2 separate regions of the Homo sapiens genome follow, and region 2 is linked to region 1. The links are contacts of gene promoters, found by promoter capture Hi-C in blood cells and fetal thymus (Javierre and others, 2016). All regions are on one chromosome and are shown on one strand. The core of a region is centred on a gene start or on the middle of the fragment in contact, and the rest is flanking DNA. Distances in the headings are between cores, read along the strand shown.

The links. The method cuts DNA at HindIII sites, captures the fragments that hold promoters and counts their contacts. A CHiCAGO score of 5 or more calls a contact.
Region 2: a contact is called between a fragment that was not itself captured here and the fragment with the promoter of CADPS2 in region 1, in 1 of 17 cell types (endothelial precursors). The highest score is 6.5, in endothelial precursors.

Annotation. Positions count from the first base shown.
Region 1 is chr7:122,885,035-122,891,882 of GRCh38, reverse strand. CADPS2 (calcium dependent secretion activator 2) reads left to right here and starts at 5,423. Exons shown (of 30, transcript NM_017954.11): 1 at 5,423-5,884. The coding sequence starts at 5,546. RefSeq lists silencers at 5,016-5,175, 5,186-5,345, 5,416-5,495, 5,506-5,555, 5,596-5,725 and an enhancer at 6,086-6,135. The HindIII fragment of the contact is 15,066 bases long and covers 1-6,848 here.
Region 2 is chr7:123,143,687-123,150,677 of GRCh38, reverse strand. SLC13A1 (solute carrier family 13 member 1) reads left to right here. Exons shown (of 15, transcript NM_022444.4): 7 at 3,368-3,519. Among named protein-coding and RNA genes, the nearest start is that of SLC13A1, 53 kb to the left of the region's middle. The HindIII fragment of the contact is 5,865 bases long and covers 2,781-6,991 here.

The DNA.
Region 1 (6,848 bases), core at 4,174-6,673:
TCAATATAAGTATAAAAATCTATGAAAGCTGGAGGGAAAAAAAAGCCTCTGGCTATTTATTGCTTTATCCAAGTATGAGCATAATTTCTATGTTCTATCCATTGCCATAAAAATTTCACATAGTTTATGGATTTGTTAACATTTTAAAAACCCAAACATTCTCTTCTGGGCTAAATATTTGCTTCTCTGGTGATCATAATAACCACTAAATACATATCTTGAATTGATGCAAGACTTTTCTTTGACACTTTGAACACAGGCCACAATGTGCTTTTACACTCCCTTCCTCCCTGCACTTTACAAGCCAACTCATTTCTGTTCATTTTCTTCAAATTTCTCATAACATAGAAAATTAAAGAATAATAGAACTGTAATCAGTCTCTAATGAATGCCCATAGATTGAATAGGAACAAAAGGATGGTAGCTTCTTATTTGGGGTCAAGTCTTCTTATAAAAATTATGAAATCTCCGATATCAAGATATTGTAACATCTGGGAGTTAGTCTGATTCTTTACAGGTTAATGATAATAGCAATACAGACTCTGAGTTATATAAAATCCAATAAATAAATGCATAGAACAATTTGCAACTTTATTTACATTTGGTTTCTATAGCTTTATGGCCCAAAGTGAGCTTAATAATAAAGTGATTACTGTATAATAGTAAAATATTTGGCATGAACTGAGAACTTACTCTATACCAGTACTTTGTACGCATTATCAAGTATTTTAAGTACTTCGTATGCATTATTTTATTTATTCTTCACAACAACCCTTTGAGTGTAGTGTGCGTGTGTGTGTGTGTGTGTGTGTGTGTGAGAACTGGGAACTACTCATTTATTTGTCAATTTATGCTTATCATCTGCATATATTTTCACCCATTACCTGTAAAATGTGTGGTCCCAGAACAGTTCTTCATTACTGACTCAGATTCTAACTGGAGAGGAAAAAAGGCAAAAGCAGAGTAAAGGGAGAGAAGGGATTTAAATGTGGTTTCCAAGAGGATTATTGCCTCATAAGATATAAATGTTCAACACAAAATTTCAAACAAATATTTTTATTTTATTTTTGTAAGTGCATATTTCTATGTGAGCTGACAGTTTTCCCATAGATGTTGCAAAACTGATTCTTCCATTTGTCCTAAAAAAGATTCCTCTTTCTGTTGTACAATAATTTTAGTTATAACTATACCACAAAAGATAATAGACTGTCCACTTTCAAGACACTTAAGGGATATTTTGAGAATTTTTCTCTAACAACACATGAGCATATATTATCATTATTGTTTAATTTGTTCTCCTGTCTATTTCATATGCATTCTCCCAGTGGGTAAATTATTAGCTTTTATGTATTCAGAATAATGCATAACCTAAAGTGGGAAACCAAAAAATGTCTGTTCTATGAAAAAAATGATTTCATCTATGAGTTGAAAGAGTTAACATTTACTTTGAGGCCAAATGCACAAACTAATTCTCATTCAGAAAACAGCCCACCTATGATATTCAGGTCACATACTTGTTTCCTTAAATATTATTGCCAAAACCACATTTTATATTCCATTTTATTACTGTGCATCCATCTTTCCTTAGCATAAGAGATGTTCCATTAAAAAGCAGTATAAATTCAATTTGTTTTTATGCTCACCTTGAAAAAAGTAAAAACGAATCATTGAATAAGTTTAAGTGTATTGTGTGCATTTATGCTGTGTGCCCAATATAGCCTTATGTTGGGCCTCATTTAATCAATGATTCCAGAGCATCAACCAACGTTATAATTACTTGAAAAGTTAATATGTAAGGTAGAAACTTGGCAAAACATTAGCGCAAGCACAAAATTAAAAACTTTAAAATTATTTGGGTACAATTAACTAATGATCAGATCTTCTTTTCAGGTTCCTTTTCTTCAAACCATCCCTTAATTAGAGGAGAGGCAAGGAAGTTTCATTGGCCCTCTTCTCACTCTGAACACATAATTTCTAGACCTTATCATCCATATGTGTACTTTAAGCTCCTCAAAGACCTGATGTTTCTCCAAACCTACCTGTCTTCTAGAAGATCATATTATATCTATTATTAATCAAGTTACACTATTCTGACAAGCATCTTCTATGCTTGACCCTCTTTGTCAGCACCTCATACATATTCTATTAATTCCTTTGTCCATCTCATCAGCTTTCCTCCTCCTCTTGTCCTCTCTCTTAAGTTCAAGGCCCATTGTTTCTCTCTCAGACGTCCCTAGTAATCTCCTCTTTATAGCTTGTCTCTGGTTTCATTGCCCTTATATTGCTCCAGATGGACTCTTAAGAGTTATGGATCACAGTATGTCTTACCTTACTTAAAACCCTTCTGTATTTCCCCATTTTCTTCAGGATATGTTTAAATTCCAAAGCATGGCACACAGACCCAATCCTGAATTTGCCTCTGCTTATTCTCTAGTCTCATTTTCCACATCTTCATATTACATACATTCTTCACTTCAGGCATGCCACTTTACTTGTAATTCTCCAAAGTGGCAAACAATTTCACATCTTTGCATTACTTCCTATCTACAGTGTCCTCATCTTGACAGCTCTAAATTATTCTTCAAGATATATGTCAAGCATCCTGGAAGACTTCTCTTACTGTATTAGTCTGTTTCCACACTGCTATTAAAGACAGTACCTAAGACAGGGTAATTTATAAACAACAGAGGTTTACTTGACTCAGAGTTCCGCATGGCTGGGGAGGCCTCAGGAAACTTACAGTCATGGCAGAAAGCAAAGGAGAACCAGACACCTTCTTCAGAAGGCAGCAAGAGAGAGAGAGAGAGAGAGATGGGGAAACTGCCACTTTTAAACCATAAACGTCTCGTGAGAATGCCCTCACTATCATAGAACAGCAGGGGGGAACTGCCCCCCATGATTTAATCACCTCCCACCAAGTCCCTCCCTCCACATGTGGGGATTACAATTAGAGATGAGATTTGGGTGGGGATATAGAGTCAAACCATATCACTTACTATCTTCTGAATGAAGTGTTTCTTCTCTGTATTGCCATTATCTTCCAGGTTATTGGAACACTCATCAGATTGCAATCCAAATATTGATTATTTTAAATAAATGTTTTTTTCATTTGTCATTCCTTAACTGATAAACTTCTTACGGCCTATATCTTGTTTTCCTAAATATATCCAGTATAGCTTTAGCATATGTTAGTTTCTTAATCAATGTATGTTTAATGATGCTTAAACATTCTCTTTGTTGTCTTTTAGATATTTCTTTAATTTATGCCTCTTAAGTCATCTTCATCTTCATGGAGAAAACACTGTATATTCTGCTCTAAAAATTATTAGATGTTTTCCTGTGGGATCCTCAAGGCTTGGAGATCTTTGACTTAATAACCACCTTTAATGGGAAAAGAATAAGTGATCACATCAAGTAATATTGATTAATAAAAGGAACTGAAAAATATACCTATTGTTGGCAAGAAAAGGGCAGTAAAGTTGCTATATTTAAATCATACATTTATGTCCCTAGAAATTTTTATTAGTTTAGTAAACCTCATACATTTATTATACTGTCTTATTATCAAGGCAAATTGCAGTAGAAAATGACACTATTTGGAACTAGAAAACTGTTTTGAGTCCTTATTCCATTAGGTGCTAGTTCTGTACCCTAAGGAAAGGATTCTTCAACTCTCAGGTTCCTTATTTGAACAATGGAACCTAAAATAAATGAGATAATGTATGTAAAGAGCTTAGTGCAGTATCTGGTTCAAAGGGCAATCAATAATAATACTACCTGCCTCAGAAAGCTATTACTTTGATGAGGGTATTAAACAATTTCACAGATCTTTGCAAAGTGCTAGATAAGCATCAGCTATTATGACAAGATTGCTATTTGTTTGCCTTGCCAAAAATAAAACATTGCCTTTAAATACATAGGTGTTTGAGATTTTCTATTTCTTGGCAGTTTGTGATCATCCCACAGCCATGCTCTTACTGAAGACCTTTTATTACTAGGGGGCCTGTTATGGATTAGGCAGAAAAATAGGTAAGACTCCTCAGGAGTAAATGCCTCCTTGTCTTTTACCCATCTAGAGAGAATGTCAGTAAGTGCAGAAGTCTCTCTTGTGTACCTAACTATATGAAAGTGGCCTGAAAAAGCTAAAACTGCTGTTTGACCATGGTGGTAGAGGAGCTCAGAGCTGGTAGTTAATTTGCCCTGTGTTATTTCCACTGAACTTCATCACCTCCCTGCCCACCTGGTCGCTGCACACTCCACCTGGTGTTGAATGCATTGTTTTGCCTATTTCCCCCTCTGTCAGGACTTAGGACATAAGATACAGAATTACTATAAGAAACTCCTAGGTGGTTCCAGCACTAGGACTGAGAAATCTGCGCAGATAAGGCAGGCTTCAGCGCAGCTACAAGACGCCGACTTGAGGCCAGAACCACCAGCGACTGAGTGTCATGTGCCTTAGTCACCGCGGGCTCCGCAAAAGGCTAACAGTGCTGGACACCGGGAGGGCGCTCAAATCTTTGTTGAATAAATGTCCACACTACACAACCTGTTTTGAGTCAACTGCATCCCAACCCAGAAAATAATCGAGATATGTTTGAGCTGAATCAGTATCATTTTGCACATATAAAATCTCTCTTGCCTTGAGTCTGCAGGACTAGAACAGTTTAAAAAGTAAGCCTCGTTGGTTTTCTTTTTTTTTTCATTACTCCGACTTTTATAATTTGGGCTTCAGCATGAGTATCAAAACGGCAGCAGAGCAGAGTGAGACTTTTCAAAGTCTTGTCGCAAAGATACTTCGTGGTGAAGGGCTCCAGTCCCGCTTTTCCGCGCTGGGGTTCAATCCTAGGCAGCCGATTCGGGTTGGGGAGATGTCTCGGCCGCTCCCCCTAACCTCTTGCTAGGGAACAGTCCCTCCCCGCTCCCCATTCCACCTCCACCTGCTGGAGAAAAGATCACAGGTGGTAGGGTGAGGGTAGTCGGAGCAGCCCCGGTGGACGCTTACACGGGCCATCGCGCTCGGCCGCTCCCCGCCTTTGCAAACTGTGTGCTAGGGCTCCAGGCGGGCCCGGGCAGCAGCGGCGGCGCGCGCACGCGCACTCCGCGGCCCCGCGCGGCTCTTCAACATTCAATTCCACGTGTTGCTTGTTGTAGGCGCCACAGGTTCCCCACCTGCGTCCGGGCGCTCGGGCGGCTCCGCCTCTGCCGGCGGGCTCTGGGGAACCGCTGGGTCGGCGCGCCCGGGGCTGGCGGAGCAATTCCTGAGGCGCCCAAGCTCACCCCCAACGCTAACTCCGCCTATTCAGTCCCGGCGGCTCCCCCTCTCCCCCCTCCCAATCCTCCTCCCGGCTCCTGCCCGCCCCTTTCGCCCTGGTGGTAGGAAACACTCCTGAATCTAACTCGACGTGTCCGGAAAGCCCTGGCCAGTTTTCCTTTCGTTCTGCGGCCGCTGCAGCCAGCCCCGCGGCTCCCTCAGACCCGCGGGCGCAGCCGCCGGGGGTGAGGCGCTTGGGGACCGCGGGCCGAGCGGCGGGGATCCCCGAGCACCATGCTGGACCCGTCTTCCAGCGAAGAGGAGTCGGACGAGGGGCTGGAAGAGGAAAGCCGCGATGTGCTGGTGGCAGCCGGCAGCTCGCAGCGAGCTCCTCCAGCCCCGACTCGGGAAGGGCGGCGGGACGCGCCGGGGCGCGCGGGCGGCGGCGGCGCGGCCAGATCTGTGAGCCCGAGCCCCTCTGTGCTCAGCGAGGGGCGAGACGAGCCCCAGCGGCAGCTGGACGATGAGCAGGAGCGGAGGATCCGCCTGCAGCTCTACGTCTTCGTCGTGAGGTGCATCGCGTACCCCTTCAACGCCAAGCAGCCCACCGACATGGCCCGGAGGCAGCAGAAGGTGAGTTGCGGGACCGGGCGCCTCCTACCACCACTTCTCCCTGGGTTTTTCTCCCGGGAGAGCTCTGGGACGCCTCCCGTCCTTCTGCGAAACGCAGGACACCGTATTTTTGTTAGTCTCTGAGGGCAGAGGAATCTTTGGGGACAAGACGGTGCTTTCACCCGCCGGGTATGCGGCTGCAGCGGACACCTCTTCTCCTCCTCCCCGCCTGGGCTGGCAGGAGCTGTCAGCTCACCATCCGTGAGACAGAGACCGACAGCGCCGGCCGCGCCGCGGTTGCACCCGGCAGGCGCAGCTCTGGCCGGATTAGAATGCAACTCCCATCAACTTTAATTTCCAACAGCACTGGTGCATTCCTGTCCACCTAGCCTGGCGTGATATTGCTAGAGCTGGGTTTGCCGAGGGTCTGAATGAGTGTTGTAGCTAGGCGAAACAGGTGGAGCCCGAGTACTTCTCTTAGCTAGAGTGAAGTCTTCACTTAAGAGGGGTAGAAATTTTCCTCAGTGAATAAAAAAGTTAAATTAATACGTTTCCTATATTGTCATACAACCAGGACATCAAATCCAAACACCGAGAAGGCATGCAGCTTTGTAAAGTGTTTGTGGGTAAGTAATTTCTGGTCTGGGCAGGCCTGATTAATGAAATATACTATTACTGATGAAAGATAAAGGATTGGTGCATGATCACTTCATAACAAATGCTTTCCAAATGCTTTTTTGGGGAACAAAATGCTTATTCTCCCCCAAAAGGTAAGAAGTTTGTTTCAGGTGAAAGGCTGGCCAACTTGAGTTTCAAAACAAGACCCCAGGGGCCTGATGTTCTGTACCAGACACGAGTAATGACTCAAATTGTCCTAAGTGGTTAAATGTTTACAATACAAACTCTAGGAAATCTTTTTAATAGAATGCTGAACCTGGAAGGTTCTGTAGAAATCGGTAACAGTTCCCTCAGTTTGTGACAAGAC
Region 2 (6,991 bases), core at 4,464-6,963, 260 kb before region 1:
ATTGAACTTAGCACTGAGGGGATTACTGATAATCACAGGAAGTGCATTGTGGGTGGAATGAGGAGACAAGCAAGATGGAAGTGTCTAAGAAAATGGAGTCAGTGAATGTAAACAACTCTTTCGAGTAGTTTGGCTGTGAAAATGGAGTTAGGACAATAGTTTACTTGAAAGGAGGGTTAAGAAGTCTTTCTTGTTTTTCTTCTGTAAGGATGGCTCAAAAATAATTAAATGTTGATGAAAATTCCAATAGTCTGTAGTGGAAGGTTTCTGAGAAAATCTGAGAGACTGTGGTCCAGAAACAAGAAGTTGGAGGAGAAACATTGACTCTATTAATTATGTAGAGAACAGGAAGATGGGGCAAATGCAAGTAGGTTTCTACATTTCACAGTGATACCATTGTCTGCTGGCTTCTATTTTCTCTGTGAAGTAGGAGGCAAAGCTACTTGTAAAGACTGAGAAGGACCATTAAGAGGGACGTATAGAGATAATAAAGAAGGTTTTATATTTCCTTGTGGAAAGAGGTAGAGTAATTTGGTTATGCAAACACAGTAGGGTAGAGGAGCAACATCATTACAGCACTGGATGTTTGTGATCATGAATGATCCCATCTGCTCTACTGTGCATGTAATTTTTAACAACAGTAGCTGGCTACTCAGAAGCAGACATGACATGGAGAGAGAGAATGGTTGGGTTTATAAATCAGTTGGAATTTTCATAAAGAACTACCATTCAAGAAAAGACAAGAAAGAGAGTTTGGAGTTTTTTTAAGAAAATTTATTGAAATGGTGTACCATGGAATCTAAACTGAATAAGGATGGAAGTAAAGAAAGGAGAGGACCATAACTGGGCATAACTACATACTTTATTGACTTAGATTTGCCAGTGCAGTTGAAGGACTGTAGAGATAGAATTAATTCAACAGCAAAGTTGGAAGAAGAAACTGTGATAACTGTGCCAATTTCTTGATAACCAGGATGGTAAAATGATACTCTTTCTACCCCTGAGTAACTATAATATCAAGCACACACTTAGGTATTTTTGCATTTCATTTCCACAGTACTTGCAAGTGAGGTGACCAAAAAACAGCTTTAGACTCTTAAACTTAGTGTTTAAAATGAGAAGGCTGAGAGACAGTCTGCTTATGGAGAAAGTTGGAGTATTTCCCCAGTGCCCCAACCCCCTGCCACTTGTACCATCACAGTCGAAAGAAGGGAAGAGTCTCCTACTTAACAAGGTGAGATAGACGTTAAGAAACTACTACTTGGAGAACTTGCTATCTACCACCTTAGACTTAGAAAAGGTCAACGGATTAGTGTTTGACACATTCTTGAAAAATTATAAAGTAAAAACTCGTGGCTGAATTTCTTTACCTAATCAAGTTTCAGCTGCACTGTCACTGACAACAGGACAGAGGTGACTGTTTCCCTTGGACCATATGTAGGAAACATGTGGGAGGAGTGTCATGTGGGATCATTTGAAAGGCAACTTCCTCCAGAAGGGATTTTTGACAGCATAAGTGGATTTCAACATAAAGAGACCAGGTAGACTATCACATGCAGACACCATGAGTGTGTCATACGTCACCAGGCAGAAGATGTGTGTTACCTACATAGAAAGAACAACAATCTGATGTTCTTATTTGGATAATAGGAGTCTCATAAAATCTCATAAAATTGCCCACCAGATGGAGTCATTTCAAAAATTCACCATGCCTGGAAAGTACTAATACCATTTTAAAATTAATACACAGTCAAATAAGACTTCTCCTAATCCTTACCACTCCTCTCCTGATCCTGTTCTTCTCTTGACATTCCAAATGTTGAAGGTTTAAAAACTGAGTGTAGCAAGTGGTGAGAAGAATTGGAACTAGGAGAGAAAGAGAAAGTCAAACTCACAAACCTCCTTCCAGCTATGGGTTTTCAAGCAGGCCTGATCTAGGGGATAAGAGAATGCTTAAGTTTAAAATTTGGGATTTTTCTTATTAAATAGGGCACTGTTTAACTACTGAAATGAAGCTATTCTCCTGACTAAACATAACTGAAAAACCATTCATTAAATGAAATGACCGGAAAAGTTATTGGTTCTTCTTTGAATTTCGCCACAGGAAGAGGAAGAATCAAACCAACAAAGGGTGTTTACAGGGTCATGGGTGAGAAAAAGAATGAAGTTGCTTTTGGCTTACACCCTAGAAAGTCATCTCTTAAATAAAACACTTACATTTGGACTAGTGATTCCCCAAGTGAAACCATTTCAGGATGTGCCATTGTCCAAGGTATAACTATGGGGGTGGGGTGACTGAGGTGGAGAACTGAAAATCGTTGGAAATGAGATAAAAAATCTGTGAGGCCAGGATATTTGAAGGGCTATTCATGAACATAGTGTAGTCATTCAGTCACTGACAAGATTTGGACTAAGGAAGATGATTAAGTGCTGAGTGCAAATGTTATCTTAAATGACAGTGGGTGACCAGGAGATCAAAATATAATGGTCAAAGGAATGGGGAGAGAAAGAGATATCCAAGTTACATGATCCTTAAAAAAAATGGATTTATTTTTTGTGTGAGTGGAGGATTAATGTTCTGGAATAGACAGTGGGAGCAAAGAGGACACTGACTTATCTCTCAATGCTGAGGTATATGGTGTTGAAAACATTCCACTTCAGGAGTAATATCCCCTGGGAACCATCCATTAAGGTGTGTAGATGGGGAAACCCTTCTTAAAGAAGTTTAGGGACTTATTGAGTATGTACCACCAGTATCAACAGAAAAATAATGAAAAGCTTTGGGAGTAGTGGTGAGAAGGAAAGACATGGGGGAAGAGTTGGGTAAGAGACAAGAAAGAAGGATGAAGAAATGAATGAAATTGGGTTTTTAAAATATTTCAGTGGCTTCAGCTTAAATACTTTTATTGCTACATCTCTATTGATGGAAAGATAAATGCTATATTAGTCAGCTCATATCACCATAACAAAACACCACAGACTAAGTGGCTTAAACAATAAAAATTTATTTCTTGCAGTTCTGAAGATTGGATCAGGGTCTGGCAGGGTCAGTGTCTGGTGAGGGCTCTCTCCTGGCATTGCAGACAGATGCCTTCTTGTGGCTTTTTCCATAGCAGAGAGAGAGAGAGAGAGAGAGAGAGGAATCAAGCTCTCTCATGTGTCCTCTTATAATGACATAATCCTATCAGACCAGGGCCACATCCTCAAAGGAAGGTACAGTATCTTCCAAATGCCCCATTGCCAAATACAATCACATCAGGAGTTAGGGTTTCAACATATGAATTGGTGCGGGTGGTGGGACACAAATATTCAGTCCATAACAAATATAGAGCAGTTCTCATGGTAGTTTTTTGTTGTTGTTGAACAGAACTCAGGCATGAGAACCAAATATCGAACAAAGAAGGGCCACGTGACACGTAAACTTACGTGTTTGTGCATTGCCTACTCTTCTACCATTGGTGGACTGACAACAATCACTGGTACCTCCACCAACTTGATCTTTGCAGAGTATTTCAATACGTAAGTAACCTTATTGGATTGGTGATTTAACATAAGGGCAGCACAAAAATTATAAAAATTATTCTTACCTGATTCAGAGAATTCAAGTACAGAGATGTTATGTTAACTCTCCCTTGTTTCCCTTCAGGACATCTATAGATCTACAGACCTTCCTTTATACTGAGAATTAAATATTCAGGGAATACTGAATTAACTTGTGCCAACAGATTTCCCAGGTCAGCTCAGAGGGGATAACTCTTGGCTGACCACCCTTAACAAACAGGAAAAACATTTTTCATTGAAAATAATACCACAAATGGTAGTTAACTAAAGTGAAAAGGAATTATTTTCTTGGGACAATTTATGTAGGGTTTGGGGACCAACATGTGAACTTAAGTAATGAATGGTGAACAGAGGTATTAATTTTGGAAGGCTTGGCTTTGGAATTCAAAAAAGATTTGAAAGATTGAACAATTGTAATAAGTGTCAGTAATAAAGTATTCTACAAACAGATATATGACTGTTAATATGTTTGGAACTGTGATGACAATTCCATTGCAGAAATGGGAATCTGTGGATTCAACAGGTAGAACACTTGGGTTAAAAAATCCTCAATTTGCAGGTACTTACATTGTGAATTATTTTACTTACTTATTTATTTTTCTGAGACAGGGTCTCACTCTGCTGCCCAGGCTGGAGGACAGTGGTGCGATCTCAGCTCACTGCAACTTTTGCCAAGTGATTGTCGTGCCTCAGCCTCCCGAGTAGCTGGGATTACAGGCATGCACCGTAATACCCAGCTAATTTTTGTACTTTTAGTAGACACGGGGTTTTGCCATGTTGGCCAGGCTGGTCTCAAACTCCTGATCTCAAGTGATCCACCTGCCTTGGCCTCCCAAAGTGCTAGGATTATAGGCATGAGCCCCTGCACCCGGCCACATTATGAATTTAACAACAAAAAGGTCCATGATTCTCCCAAGACTTAATTTTTTCATATGTAAAATAGTCACAGTTGATAGGGTTATTGTGAGAATTCAATGAAGTAAACTATGTAAAAATATTTTGCGCTATGTAAGTATCATTGAAACAATAGTATGAAAGTCCATGGTGTCATATGTGCACTCAGACTGGTTCTACTAAAAGAACAGATAATAATCAGAATTTCAAGAAGACAGACACAATTGAGAAAGCCTAGGAACAGGATTTGGGTTCACAGAAAAATTAGAGTTTAGAGGCAGGAAAACTACTCTCTGTGAAGTAGATTCATAGACTCTATGAATTTTCTGAAATTATTTGCAAAATGTTGTGCATGCACGGATTCTCTAAGAAATACAAGACTCAAAGAATGTCAATCTCCATTCTAGAAAGAATGGGTGTTTGTGTTCAACGAACACTGGTATAGGAGTTTAGGATCAATATTACACAGACCTCCAAGAGTATTGTTTCTATGAATACACATCCATTATCTACACTCCAATTACTGACTTAGAAAACTTTAAAAGGTTTTTGGTTTATAAATGAGAGGCTTCTGAAACTCACAGTACCAGTGAGGATTTATCCAATGTATCCCCTAATTTAAGACAAGAAATGCACCTGACATCTTTTTGAAAATGACTTATATCCTTTCTCATGAATTCTCCAAGAGAAGGGATTCCACATCTTAGTTCCTGTCTGTGAATTTCTTTTTCTAATATCCAGACCGAATTCTTATGCTTCATCTTTGTTGATATTAGAGAACTGCTGGTTTCCATCATTCACATGAAATTAGTTGATACAGTCAAGTAATTCATATTACTCTGTAAGATTGCAATATGGTAAATACTATGGAAGAAATTTTGACACGGCAGAGTTTGGACTTAGACCTCAATTCAGATTTCAAGCTCACCATATATTAGCTTAACTTCTGTGACTATCAGTTTCCTTTTCTGTAAAATGGGGATGATACTAGAACTTACAACATTATTGAATTAATTAAATGCCATAATGCACATGTGGCTCTAGCAGAGGGTCTGGCACATAGTAACTTGTCAATAATGTTAGCTGTTGTTATTGCCACTGCTCTACTTTTGCCATGGCTGTTAAAAATCTCAGCCTGGATCATGAATGATAAATAGTTAATATTTTGAGGAAAATCCTCTGGAAGTACACACACACAAAATGGAAAAGTAGCTTTATCTCAGAGATAATCAAAACTGTCATCAGTCAAAAGGTCTATAATTGGTGTGCAATTATAGTATCTATAGTAGCATACTATGACACTTAATGCCCAAAATCTGTTCCAAGGTTATAAATTTCCAAGACTACATTCATTCTTTTGAAGCTATGTTCTGAGTATTTCATGGGTATTAAAGTTATTTGTTTTGCAGTGGGGCATAAGTTGCATATAACATGTAAGTTACTTGCAGTGACAATGACTCTTCCTAAGAGTCAACCTTGACGTGTAAATGTGCTTTAGGTCAAAGCACATCTCCGTGTTATGGGGCATCATTTCTACAATTGTTTTAAAGTGCCAAGAAAACATAAAGTTTGTACTCCAGCCTGCGGATGTTTTGTAATATATGTGGCATTTTCTCTTTTTACCTGGGAGCTAAAATTGAGGATGTAATGGTTTAATGAACAGAGGTTGTGTTTTAAACTCCTCCTGGGTTAAAAATCCAGTTTGACTACACAATCTGACTTTGAGAAATCCACTTAGCCCCCTAAGACTCAGTTTATTCCTGTGTAAAATAAAAATTTAATGCTTTTTTCACAGGATTTTTGATAAAATTAAAAGTGCTTAGCTCATCTGCTCATTTCTACCTAACCTCTAAAACTTACAGTGCCCCAAGAGAAGCACTTCAGTTTCTCTTCTAAATCTCCATTACTGCTTAAATGATCAGACCCATTTCTATGTTTGTAATACCACCTATGTGCTGATAACTACCAATTTTTTATCTCTATCCCTGCCCTTTCCTCTGAATTTCAGACTTACTTATCCAGCTGCATTCCAACATGACCACTTCAAAAACTGAGGGACATCTCAAATCATCACATCCCAAAACAGCATGCTTGATCTGCCACCTCTCCCCTGCCCTCCTGCCAATCCAACCTCCCCTCAGACTTCACCATTTCAACATATGACATCTTTTCTCCATTTCCTAGGTTTTATTCCAAATATATCTAAAATATCTTGCCTTCTGTTTATCTTCACATGTAAACTAAAATCTACTCCACTCTACCCTACTTCCGAGGGACTTTATCTTGTAATAGGTTTCCCTGTGTATTCCTCTTCTACTGCTACCTTACAAATGGCAATCAACTTAGTGGCTTAACACAGCACACATTTATTATCTCATTATTTTTGTGGGTCAACAGTTCAGGAAGAAAGGGGCAGAGCAAGATGGTGGAATACAGGGCTCCATGGATAGTACCCCGTGCAAGGACACCAATTTAACATCTATCTACATACAGAAAAGCACCTTCATAAGGACCAAAAATCAGGTGAGCACTCACA